2 separate regions of the Homo sapiens genome follow, and region 2 is linked to region 1. The links are contacts of gene promoters, found by promoter capture Hi-C in blood cells and fetal thymus (Javierre and others, 2016). All regions are on one chromosome and are shown on one strand. Each heading gives the region's core, a stretch centred on a gene start or on the middle of the fragment in contact. The rest is flanking DNA. Distances are from core to core; before and after follow the strand shown. Region 1 holds the start of C3orf18 (chromosome 3 open reading frame 18). Region 2 overlaps DCAF1 (DDB1 and CUL4 associated factor 1).

Region 1 (5,078 bases), core at 1,067-3,566:
CGAGACCAGCCTGGCCAGCATGGTGAAACCCTGTCTCTACTAAAAATACAAAAAATTGGCCGGGCATACTGACGCGCACCTGTAGTCCCAGCTACTTGGGAGGCTGAGGCAGGAGAACTGCTTGAACCCAGTTCAAGCAGGCGGAAGTTGCAGCGAGCCGCGGTCATGCCACTGCACTCCAGCCTGGGTGCCAGAGAGAGACTCCGTCTCAAAAAAAAGAAAAAAAAGACTGTCCCAGGCAAGACACGAACCCGAGTCCACCAGACTCCAGAAGCGGCTCTTGCACCAGTGCGCCGTCCCAGGAGCCAAGGCCCGAAGTCAGAAGTGTAAACTCCCTCACAGCTACGCACCGCATTGTTAACGACCCAGATGAGGCCCCCTCTCTCCAACCCTGTTTCCCCATCTGCACTATGGAGAATGGTACCGGCCAGGTCTCCAGGCGGTTGCAGTCGAAACACCCCGTTCCGATCCCCACCTCCCATGCATACCTGCCTGAAAGGCTGCCCCACCCACCCACCAGCCGGAGAAGCTGCCCCGAACTGGACGCCCGGACGTGCGTGGCCCGTCGCGCGCTCCCTCGGACGCCCCGCTTCCGGGGTCGGCGCCTTTAAGAAAAGGCTCGGGCGGACGCCGTAGCCCAGCTTCAGTGTTCCTATCGCTGGTGGGTTCCTCCCAGGAGACCCCTGCGGATGGGTGGGGAGGCTGTGAATTCCACTCCCTCTACGCTCGCAGGCCTGCATACAGGAAAGTGCGGGGATGTGTGTGGGGTTGACCCTTGGGGGCCCGGACCTGCCGGTCTTCCTTAAAATCACAGCAGGGATTTGGCTCCAGCCCAAGGGGATTGCTCCGAGCTGGCGTTTAGGAACCAGGCCGGGAGGTGTGTGGGCGGAGCCCAGTAGCCTGCCGGAAAGGGGGCGTGTCACCAGAGGGCCCGGGTGTTCCGGCGGGGACCAGATGTCCGGGGGCGTGGTCTATCTTAGCCTGGGGGCCGGGTGGAGCTGTGCATGGGCGGGTTCCAGTGTTGAAGGCTGGTCCAACTTTGGGGTCCAGTCCCAGTGTCGTGACCCTACCGAGGTCAGTGGCCCGAGCCCACCAGGGGGTCGGCCGACTGGCGGCCAGACCCCAGGGGCCGCTCTTTTACCGATTCGAATCTTGACTCTATTGGCAACTCCTCCAGGTGTTGGGACCTCTGGACCTCAGTTGCGCCTTCTATAAAATACTCGGCAGCGTCTCGCAAAGTGTGTCTTGTCAACATCTCCCCACCAGAAAGTACTGTTAACTAGAACACTGTTAACTACTTTTTTTTTCTTTTTTTCTTTTTTTTTTTTTTTTTTTTTGAGACGGAGTTTTGCTCTTGTTGCGCAGGCTGAAGTACAATGGCGCGATCTCTGCTCACTGCAACCTCGGCCTCCGGGTTCAAGCCATTCTCCTGCCTCAGCCTCCCAAGTAGCTGGGATTACAGGCGTGAGCCAACACGACCGGCTAATTCTGTATTTTTAATAGAGACAGGGTTTCACCATGTTGGTCAGGCTGGTCTCGAACTCCTGACTTCAGGTGATCCATCGCCTCGGCCTCTCAAAGTGCTGGGATTACAGGAGTGAGCCACCACGCCCGGCCTTAAACTGCTATTAAACATGCTGTTTCCCTGCCTCCTTCCCAGACCGGGAGACACAGGGGCGTTTGCATTTGTACCAGGCTACCCGGTGACTCCCATAAACTACTTTGAAAACCGGCGGATCAGGAGTATCTGAGGGCTCCTTCCCTGAGCTGATCATGCCGTGGATGGAAGCTATTGTGAGGGTATATGTAGACTTGCCTGGGTCGGGGTGCCCAATAATAAATCCACCCCACTCTCAACTTCTGTAGACGAAGATTCCCCATCTTCGTCTAGAACCCTCACACCAGAGGACCCGTCTGAGTAGAAAGCCAAGGTTCAGGAAGGGAAAAGCAGTTTCTTCAAGGTCACAAAGTCAGCCAGAGTTCAGTGCAGGCCCAAGGACTCCCAGTCCAGTGCTCTCCCCAAGTCTCCTCTGTACATCCATCCGCGTTTTGGGGGCTTGAGTCTGTCCTGGCACGGGTAGCTGGCAGGGGTCCCGAGTTCTGGCCCGGAAGGGCCTGGCCACCCACTGTCCTCCGCCCAACTTCGGCGCAGGCCACGGGGTGAGGGTAGTCTCTAAAAACTGCGACCAGGTTCTAGGCTCCCTCTGGGGGTGGAGCCAGACCCGAGCGACAAGCGAACGGTCCAATTCTGGGCGGGCTCTAGGCCCGACAGCCAATCGGAGGCCGGGGGCGCGGAGCGTGCAGGGAGGCAAGGCGCTGTAGCTTCGGGGATCCCCCGAGGCTGCTCGGCCCGGCCCCACCTCCGCCGTGGGTCCCGGCCCTACCCACCCTAGCTCAGGCCGGCAGAGCCAGCGCTCGCGGATGCGGCTGGTGCGCAGTAGCGGGCCTGGCCAGCGGCTCGGGGCTTGCAGGGAGGGCGGATCTCGGGTCGGACCCGCAGCCCCAGACGCCGGGCTTGGGGGTTCCCCCCGCCCCGGCCTCCTGCCAGTCACTACCACCCCTAGCCTCTCCAACTGAGCTCGGCGCCGGGAGAGGATTAAGTAAGTGCTGAGGTCACTGCTCCTGTGCAAGAAGGGAGGCATCACAGGGTCGCGGAGGCGGGCATGGGGATTGGGGCAGGGAGGACTGAGAGACCTGGTGGAGAACAGCATGCGGGTTCTCGAAGGTCGCGGTGCCGACCCCTTTTACCCCGGTTTCCTTCCCTTCCCCTTTGGACCCTGAGGCAGGCCTGGAAAGTGGTCAGTAGGGCCTCTTCTCTCCTTTGGGAGGCGATGTTAACAGAGCCCCAGGGCACGAGTTAAGGGTTTGGCCCAAGGTCACGCCCGGGATCAGTTGCAAAGCCAAGAAAAGAACCCGGGACTTCCTATGTGCCCAGATGTGCCCAGCCTAGCTGGAGGGAGAAGGCAAAGAGGGATGAGCCTTTCTACCCCATAACCCTCTGCCAGCCTTGCCCCTTCCTCAGGGACCATCAGAGGTGTTTACACATCTCACACACGCCCATGCATCTGCACAGGGAGGCAACCCCACTAATGCCCATGAACCAGCACAGGGGGATGTATGCACCCACGAGCTAGGTATCCCTCCTCTCCCTAGGCCGTCCCATCTGCAGCTTGGCTGGCACCTCTTCCCACCCCACCTTAACCAGGGCCCTCTGCACTGGGCAAATCTCTCACCCTCTGCTTCCAGGGGAGGAGGGTAAAGGAAGAGAAGGCACCCACACTGGGAGCTCCATTCCTGCCTCGCCTTTCTCCTTGACCCTAGCAGCCCCTCTATTGTTGGTGGGTGGGGAGGGCAGTCCAATGTCCCCGAGAGCCTGCGGAGAAGCCCCGCCAGAGAACCAGAGCCTCTCTCTCCTTCTTGTCTTCTGGTCTTTCCACATCAGCCTCCACCCACACTCCAAGCATAGTCTGGACCATACAGTGGACTGGGTCCAGGGGCTCCCTTGGCTCCCCTTTGTGACTGGGTTGGCCATGGGGAGAAAATCTAACATGTAGTGGATGCTTACTGTGGATGGGGGTTGTGCTGAGCTAAGTCTTTCTTCGACACCTGTTTGTTCTGCCATTTCTGTAACCCCATGACCCTGTGGGGATGTTCTCAATATCCCCACCTTAGACTCAGGAAAACGGAGACACAGAGAGGTGGAGTGACTTTCTAGGGATCACTAGTTAAGCAGCTGAGCTAGGTTTCAAAGACAGGCCTGTCTGACTCTTGGGCAAGTGTTTCCCTCCAGGAAAGGAAAAAGCTGTGGTATTTTTTCCCCCAAGCAGGATGAGGGATGTGGGAGGCAGGGAATGAGGAGGTGGATATGGGGAGGTGGGGGATATGGGGACGCAGGTTGAGGGGAGTTTTTGATCAGGGGAGGGAGACTTTTTCTTTCAAACATCCCCGCTGCCTTTCATATCTTCCAGGTTTGATCACTATGATCATCTCACCCACAGACAGAGGATGCAGGGCTTCATTTTTGTTCCCAAAAACAGGGGCACCGTAGATACGTAAAGTATGTGTCCTAATGTCTCCTGAACTTACCCTCATTCTTGCCCTCAAACCTTTACCTCCCCAGTGCTTTCAGAACCTAGAGAGACTTCATCTCACTACTGAGCCCCTGTCCTTAGCCTCATGTTTCTTATTCTTTCCTTTCTAGCACCCAGGAAGGCAGGGGGCTCCCTTTATCCAAGGAGGTGGCTGTGCAGGTGGCCACCACAGGTGGCAGGAACCACAGGCTGGGGCACTCCGGAGTCAGGAGTGAGTGGGCAGGTTGACTGGCATCAGGCAGCCTCTCAGCCAGGGCCCTCTCCGCATCAGCATGAACTCCAGGACCGCATCTGCTAGGGGCTGGTTCAGCAGCCGCCCACCCACCTCTGAGTCTGACCTGGAACCTGCCACAGATGGGCCAGCCTCCGAGACCACTACCCTCAGCCCAGAGGCCACCACCTTTAATGACACCAGAATCCCTGATGCAGCTGGTGGCACGGCCGGCGTGGGTACCATGCTTCTGTCCTTTGGGATCATCACGGTGATAGGCCTGGCTGTGGCCTTGGTGAGAGCTGGGGTAGGCTGGGGGAGGATAATCAGTGTTTAGATTTATAGAGAACCTAATCAATCAGAAGACAATCTGGTTGTTGTTATTGTTGTTTTTGAGACAGAGTCTTGCTCTGTCATGCAGGCTGGAGTGCAATGGCTTGATCTCAGCTCACTGCAACCTCCACCTCTGGGGCTTAATCGAGTCTCCTGCCTCAGCCTCCCAAGTAGCTGGGATTACAGGTGTGAGCTGCCACGCCCGGCTAATTTTTGTATTTTTAGTAGAGATGGGGTTTCGCTATGTTAGCCAGGCTGGTCTTGAACTCCTGGCCTCAAGTGATCTGCCCCCGTTGGCCTCCCAAAGTGCTGGGATTACAGACATGAGCCTCTGTGCCCGCCAACAATCTATTAATGAGAGTGCAGTCCTCCTCTCCTGCAGAGATTTGTCCACTGGGGCCCAGAGACCAGAGAGGCTACGCTTCCAACTGGAAACAACAGAA
Region 2 (5,169 bases), core at 1,062-3,561, 860 kb before region 1:
CACTCAGCTGATGCTTGTTTTATATTAACAAATAGTTTGTTATGGAGATAATAAAACCATCCCAACTGTTCCTAGGGCTGCAGAGAGGTTTTCCATTTGGTTCTACTGTTTTTGTAGTTAAGACTCTTTCATATATAATCTTTTTTTTTTTTTTTTTTTGAGACGGAATCTTGCTCTGTCACCCAGACTGGAGTGCAGAGGCGGGATCTCAGCTCACTGCAACCTCTGCCCCCTGGGTTCAAGTGATTCTCCTGTCTCAGCCTCCTGAATAGCTGGGATCACAGGCACGTGCCACCATGCCTGGCTAATTTTTTTTTTTTTTCAGTAGAGACGGGGTTTTACCATGTTGGCTAGGCTGGTCCTGAACTCCTGACCTCAAGTGATCCACCCGCCTCAGCCTCCCAAAGTACTGGGATTACAGTCATAAGCCACCGTGCCTGGCCTTGTGATTTTTTAAAAAGTGTAAATGGGTTACACATACGTATGTGGTTTTTTGTTTTTGTTTTTGTTTTGAGGCAGGGTCTGGCTCTGTCGCCTATGCTGGAGTCCAGTGGCATGATCTTGGCTCACTGCAGCCTCGGCCTCCTGGGTTCAAACCATCCTCGCAAGTAGCTGGGACAACAAGGGCACACCACCACACCTGGCTAATTTTTGCGTGTTTTGTAGAGGCAGGGTTTTGCCATTTTGCCCAGGCTGTGGGTTATACATTTGAAAAGCGATGGGCTCCTGTGATCCCCTAGGAAAGCAAAGCTCTTGTTACTTCTATTTCTGGGACATTTTTCTAATATTCTTATTTGGTGTCTTTTCTGGTAGAGTGAAATGGGTAATTTCTTCTCGAGCTATGACATTATTTATCTTTGCTTATTAATAATATCAGTTTTAATTTGTTTTTATTTTGGTGTTTATGCAAGATAGGTAGTCTTTTGGGAGTAATAAACTAATCTATGTGTGTACATACAAAATTACTTATGGCTAAGATAGAGAAAAAAATATCAAGGAAACCTGGGGATGCTTTACAGTTTCATTTTCTGACCCATAGTAGACATCAAAATGTGTGTGAATTAACCAGAGAATGAATACCAAACTCCTAGACTTAGGATCAGAAATCTGAGCCACTTTTATCACATTTGGAGAAGTTCCTTACCTCTTCCTCTTCTTTTAAGTGAGAATCCTAATACCTGTATAATGGAGCCCTCGTGAGCATTAAATGATGTAAATATTTGTTGGCACTCAGTAAGTATAGGTTGTATTTAAATATTTATCTAAATTTAGGTCGTTTTCAGGTTTGGAATGGATCGTGTTCTAAAATTGCCTTTGTATTATTACCTAAACTTTGTACTAAGAGTGACTTGATTGGAGATGGTCATTGTATTCTGCAGATATCTATACTGGCAAATTTTCCATCCTGTTCAAGGGCTCCTTTGCCCACAATTTAAAAGCATTGTTTTATTTGTATTTTTTTGCAGGTTTGCATGCATCCCCACAATGTTCTGTCTGATGTGGTGAACTATACCCTGTGGTTAATGGAGTGTTCTCATGCTTCAGGATGCTGCCATGCTACCATGTTTTTTTCAATTTGCTTCTCATTTCGGGCCGTCTTGGAGCTCTTTGACCGCTATGATGGTCTTCGTCGTCTGGTGAACTTGGTGAGGTTCTTTCAGTGCTTTTCTCCCTAGGATTGAGGGTCCTGGTTGTCTTGGCTGCCCTTTAACGGCACACCCTTGAAGAAAGGAAGCTTCTGATTAGAGGAGTTTTGCTGCCATTCTTTTTGTGAAGTTTTTTTTTTTTCCCTTTCTTCACAAATTTCTCTTTTTCTTTAGTAGTTAGAGGACACTGTGCCGTTGTAGACTTGCCTTGGATATAGTAATCTTATAACGGGGATTGGCAGTTGATGATCTTGATCTTTGTAAAAGCAATAGTTTTATTCCTGTACATTTTTTAATATGATTAAAAGCTTGTTCATTTTTTGGTATGAGTTTAATGTTTTGCTTTCATATAGCTACTGTTAGCATGCTATATACATAGATATACATAAATATGCGTTGATATTTGTCAGTCTTGTTAAGCATAAAAGTTTACTGATACATAAGCAGAATATGTATGGAAAGTAAAAAAAGTTTACTAAAATATTTTCCCTTTTTTAAATATTTTTACTTAACTCTTCTTGCCTTTTCCCCTCTTTTGCCCCAATATTTTGCATCTTAATAGATCAGTACTTTGGAGATTCTAAATTTGGAAGATCAGGGTGCACTTCTGAGTGATGATGAAATATTTGCTAGCCGCCAAACTGGGAAACATACCTGCATGGCCTTGCGCAAATACTTTGAGGCTCACCTGGCCATTAAATTGGAACAAGTGAAGCAGTCACTTCAGAGGACTGAGGGTGGCATTCTTGTCCACCCACAACCCCCGTACAAGGTGAGAGGACCTTGCCTTGAAAGGGAAAGTTCTGTTAGCCCTCTCTGTAGCATCTCAGTCCTGAAACTCACATTCAGATCAGTGGACTCTGTGCTATGTCCATTGTTGGAGTATACTTCCCTGTATGAAGGCAGAACAATTGAAAAATGGATGTAATAGGTGAATTTCAGGGAATTATTTTGCTTCCAGTTGTAAGTTGCTGGGATTCTAGAACTAAAAGATTAACTGAAGTGTGTATAAAAAAGCTTTCTTTTTTTCTTTTTGAGATACGTCTCCCTCTGTCACCCAGGCTGGAGTGCAGTGATGTGACCACACCTCATTGCAACATTAACCTCCCAGGTTCAGGTGATCCTCCCACCTCAACCTCCTGAGTAGTTGGGGGACTATAGGCACACACCACCACACCCAGCTAATTTTTAAATTTTTTTGTGGAGATGGGGGTCTCACTATGTTGTCCTGGCTGGTCTTGGAACTCCTGGACTCAAGCAGTCCTCCCACCTCGACCTCCCAAAGTGCTAGAATTACAGGTGTGAGCCACTGTACCTGGCAAAGAGCTTTTTTGTATGAAAAGTACTAGATGATTTGCCTTCTGTGCAGAATTTCTTTTCTGAAAATGTGTTTATAACTCCACTTCACTATCATTGTGGAATTTGATATGTTTTGGGATAATGACGAGTAGCTGCATGTTTTTTAAAAAATCACCAGCAGATTTCTTGAGACCAGCCTGGGCAACAATAGTGAGACCCTGTCTTTACAAAAATTTTAAAAATTGGCTGGGCCCTGTGGTGTGCATCTGTAGTTCTAGCTACTTGGGAGGCAGAGGTGGGAGGATCATTTGAACCCAGGAGTTCAAGACTGCAGTGAGCTACGATCATATCACTGCACTCCAGTCTGGGCAGAGACTGTCTCAAAAAAAAAAAAAAAAAAAAGGGCATGGTGGTACACCTGTGTCAGCTACTTGGGAGGCTGAGATGGGAGAGTCACTCGAGTCTGGGGGTTTGAGGCCGCACGTGATCGGGCTATGGCACTCCAGTCTGGGCAACAGAGTGAGAACCAGTCTCAAGAAAAAAAAAAGTCACAAATTGAAATCAGTCACATGATGCTTCTTTCTCTTAAGCTGTAACTTATATGCACAAAGGAAACTTTTGTTATCTTTTTGGACAAATCATATTGTGAGTCTAGTTATAAATAAGATAAAAGATTAAGCAATCTATGGTCATTACTTCACATATGGGCTTTTGACTCAAGAATTGTGGAATTTGAAAGGTATTATTATTTAATTTATAATTAAAACCTTGGCCAAGCATGGTGGCTCATGCCTGTAATTCCAGCACTTGAGGAGGCTGAGGTGGGAGGATCGCTTGAGTCTAGGAGTTCAGGGCTGCAGTGAGCTATGATCATGCCACTGCACTCCAGCATGGGCAACAAAATGAGACCCTGTCTCTACAAAAAATAAAATAATTAGCTGGGTGTGGTGGCATGTGCCTGTGGTTCTAGCTACTTGGGATGCTGAGACAGGAGGGCAGCTTGAGCCTGGGAGATTGAGGCTACAGTGAGCCGTGATCAAGCCACTGCCCTCCAGCCTGGGCAGCAAAGTGAGACCCTGTCTTGAAATAAGTAAATAAAATAAAATCTCTTGGCCAGTGAGCTGTGCTCAAGGAGGTAGTAGGCAGATGTAGAGTTATATATAATAATAATACTATATATCTCTCCTTATAGGCATGCTCATATACTCATGAACAGATTGTGGAAATGATGGAATTTTTGATAGAATATGGCCCAGCGCAGCTATATTGGGAACCAGCTGAAGTTTTCCTCAAACTTTCTTGTGTGCAACTCTTGTTGCAGCTTATTTCTATTGCCTGCAATTGGAAGACCTATTATGCAAGGTGGGACCAGAGAGAGATTTCAAATGAAGTTTGATGCATCTTTTTGTTAAAGTTGATGTTGGTTTGCACATTGTATATGCTTAACAAACATTTGTTGAATTGAATTGAAATTTTGGACTTGAATCTGAGAAATTAGATTAGGCATGAAAATATGATTTTTAATTTACAGCACACTTGTTCATATATATGGTCTTGGTGATTGTAAAATTTGCATAATAGGCAAGGATTAGCCTCTGTACTGTCGGAGAAGGTACATGATTTACACGGCCACAGCTGCAGAGCTGGGGTTAAAGTCTTGTCTTGAGCCTGGAGTCCAGGATTCTTTAGTACTTAAAGTGTCTTGCTACTACTTGACAACCATATATAATGTTTATATTACGTTCATATAAAATTGTCCTTTTACTCTTGGAATTCGACATACTGTTAGGATTTTCACAAATTAGTTTAAGGCAGAGCAGGACAAGGCCCAGAAAAGGGTGGCTGATGTAATCAGGAAACTGGGTAGGTTCTATTTGAAGATGATATAAAAAGAAATAAAACTGTTTTGAAAAAGATGGGGTCTTAAGAGAAGATAGTAAAAAAGTTTATAAACAGAGTGCTTGACCTTCTTTTCCTATTCACTCACTGCCATAAAGATAAGAGAGGGGCTTATTTAGGGGAATATAGTAAGTTTGTTAAATCCCAGCATTTAAATATTGTAAGGTACTCTTGGAGCAGGTGTTATTAAACTTTTTGGTTTCAAGATACCTTTACCATATTAATAATTACTGAGAACTCTAAAAGGCTTTTGTTTTTGTGTTATATCTATCAGTATTAGAAATTAAAACAGAAAATGTAAAAATATTTATGCATTAAAAATGTG

Evidence for each region. Contacts are between HindIII fragments. The CHiCAGO score rates a contact against its expected background, and 5 or more counts as called.
Region 2: a fragment that was not itself captured here is called in contact with the fragment with the promoter of C3orf18 in region 1 in 4 of 17 cell types (total B cells, naive CD4 T cells, naive CD8 T cells and 1 more); the score reaches 7.2 in total B cells.

Annotation. Positions count from the first base shown.
Region 1 is chr3:50,564,985-50,570,062 of GRCh38, reverse strand. C3orf18 (chromosome 3 open reading frame 18) reads left to right here and starts at 2,316. Exons shown (of 6, transcript NM_016210.5): 1 at 2,316-2,600; 2 at 3,969-4,057; 3 at 4,202-4,597. The coding sequence starts at 4,364. HEMK1 (HemK methyltransferase 1, mitochondrial release factors N(5)-glutamine) reads right to left here and starts at 541. Exons shown (of 11, transcript NM_016173.5): 1 at 489-541. RefSeq lists an enhancer at 617-736 and a silencer at 2,175-2,684. The HindIII fragment of the contact is 20,682 bases long and covers 1-5,078 here.
Region 2 is chr3:51,426,510-51,431,678 of GRCh38, reverse strand. It overlaps DCAF1 (DDB1 and CUL4 associated factor 1), which reads left to right. Exons shown (of 25, transcript NM_001387579.1): 11 at 1,467-1,646; 12 at 2,209-2,418; 13 at 4,138-4,307. Among named protein-coding and RNA genes, the nearest start is that of RBM15B, 38 kb to the right of the region's middle. The HindIII fragment of the contact is 709 bases long and covers 1,957-2,665 here.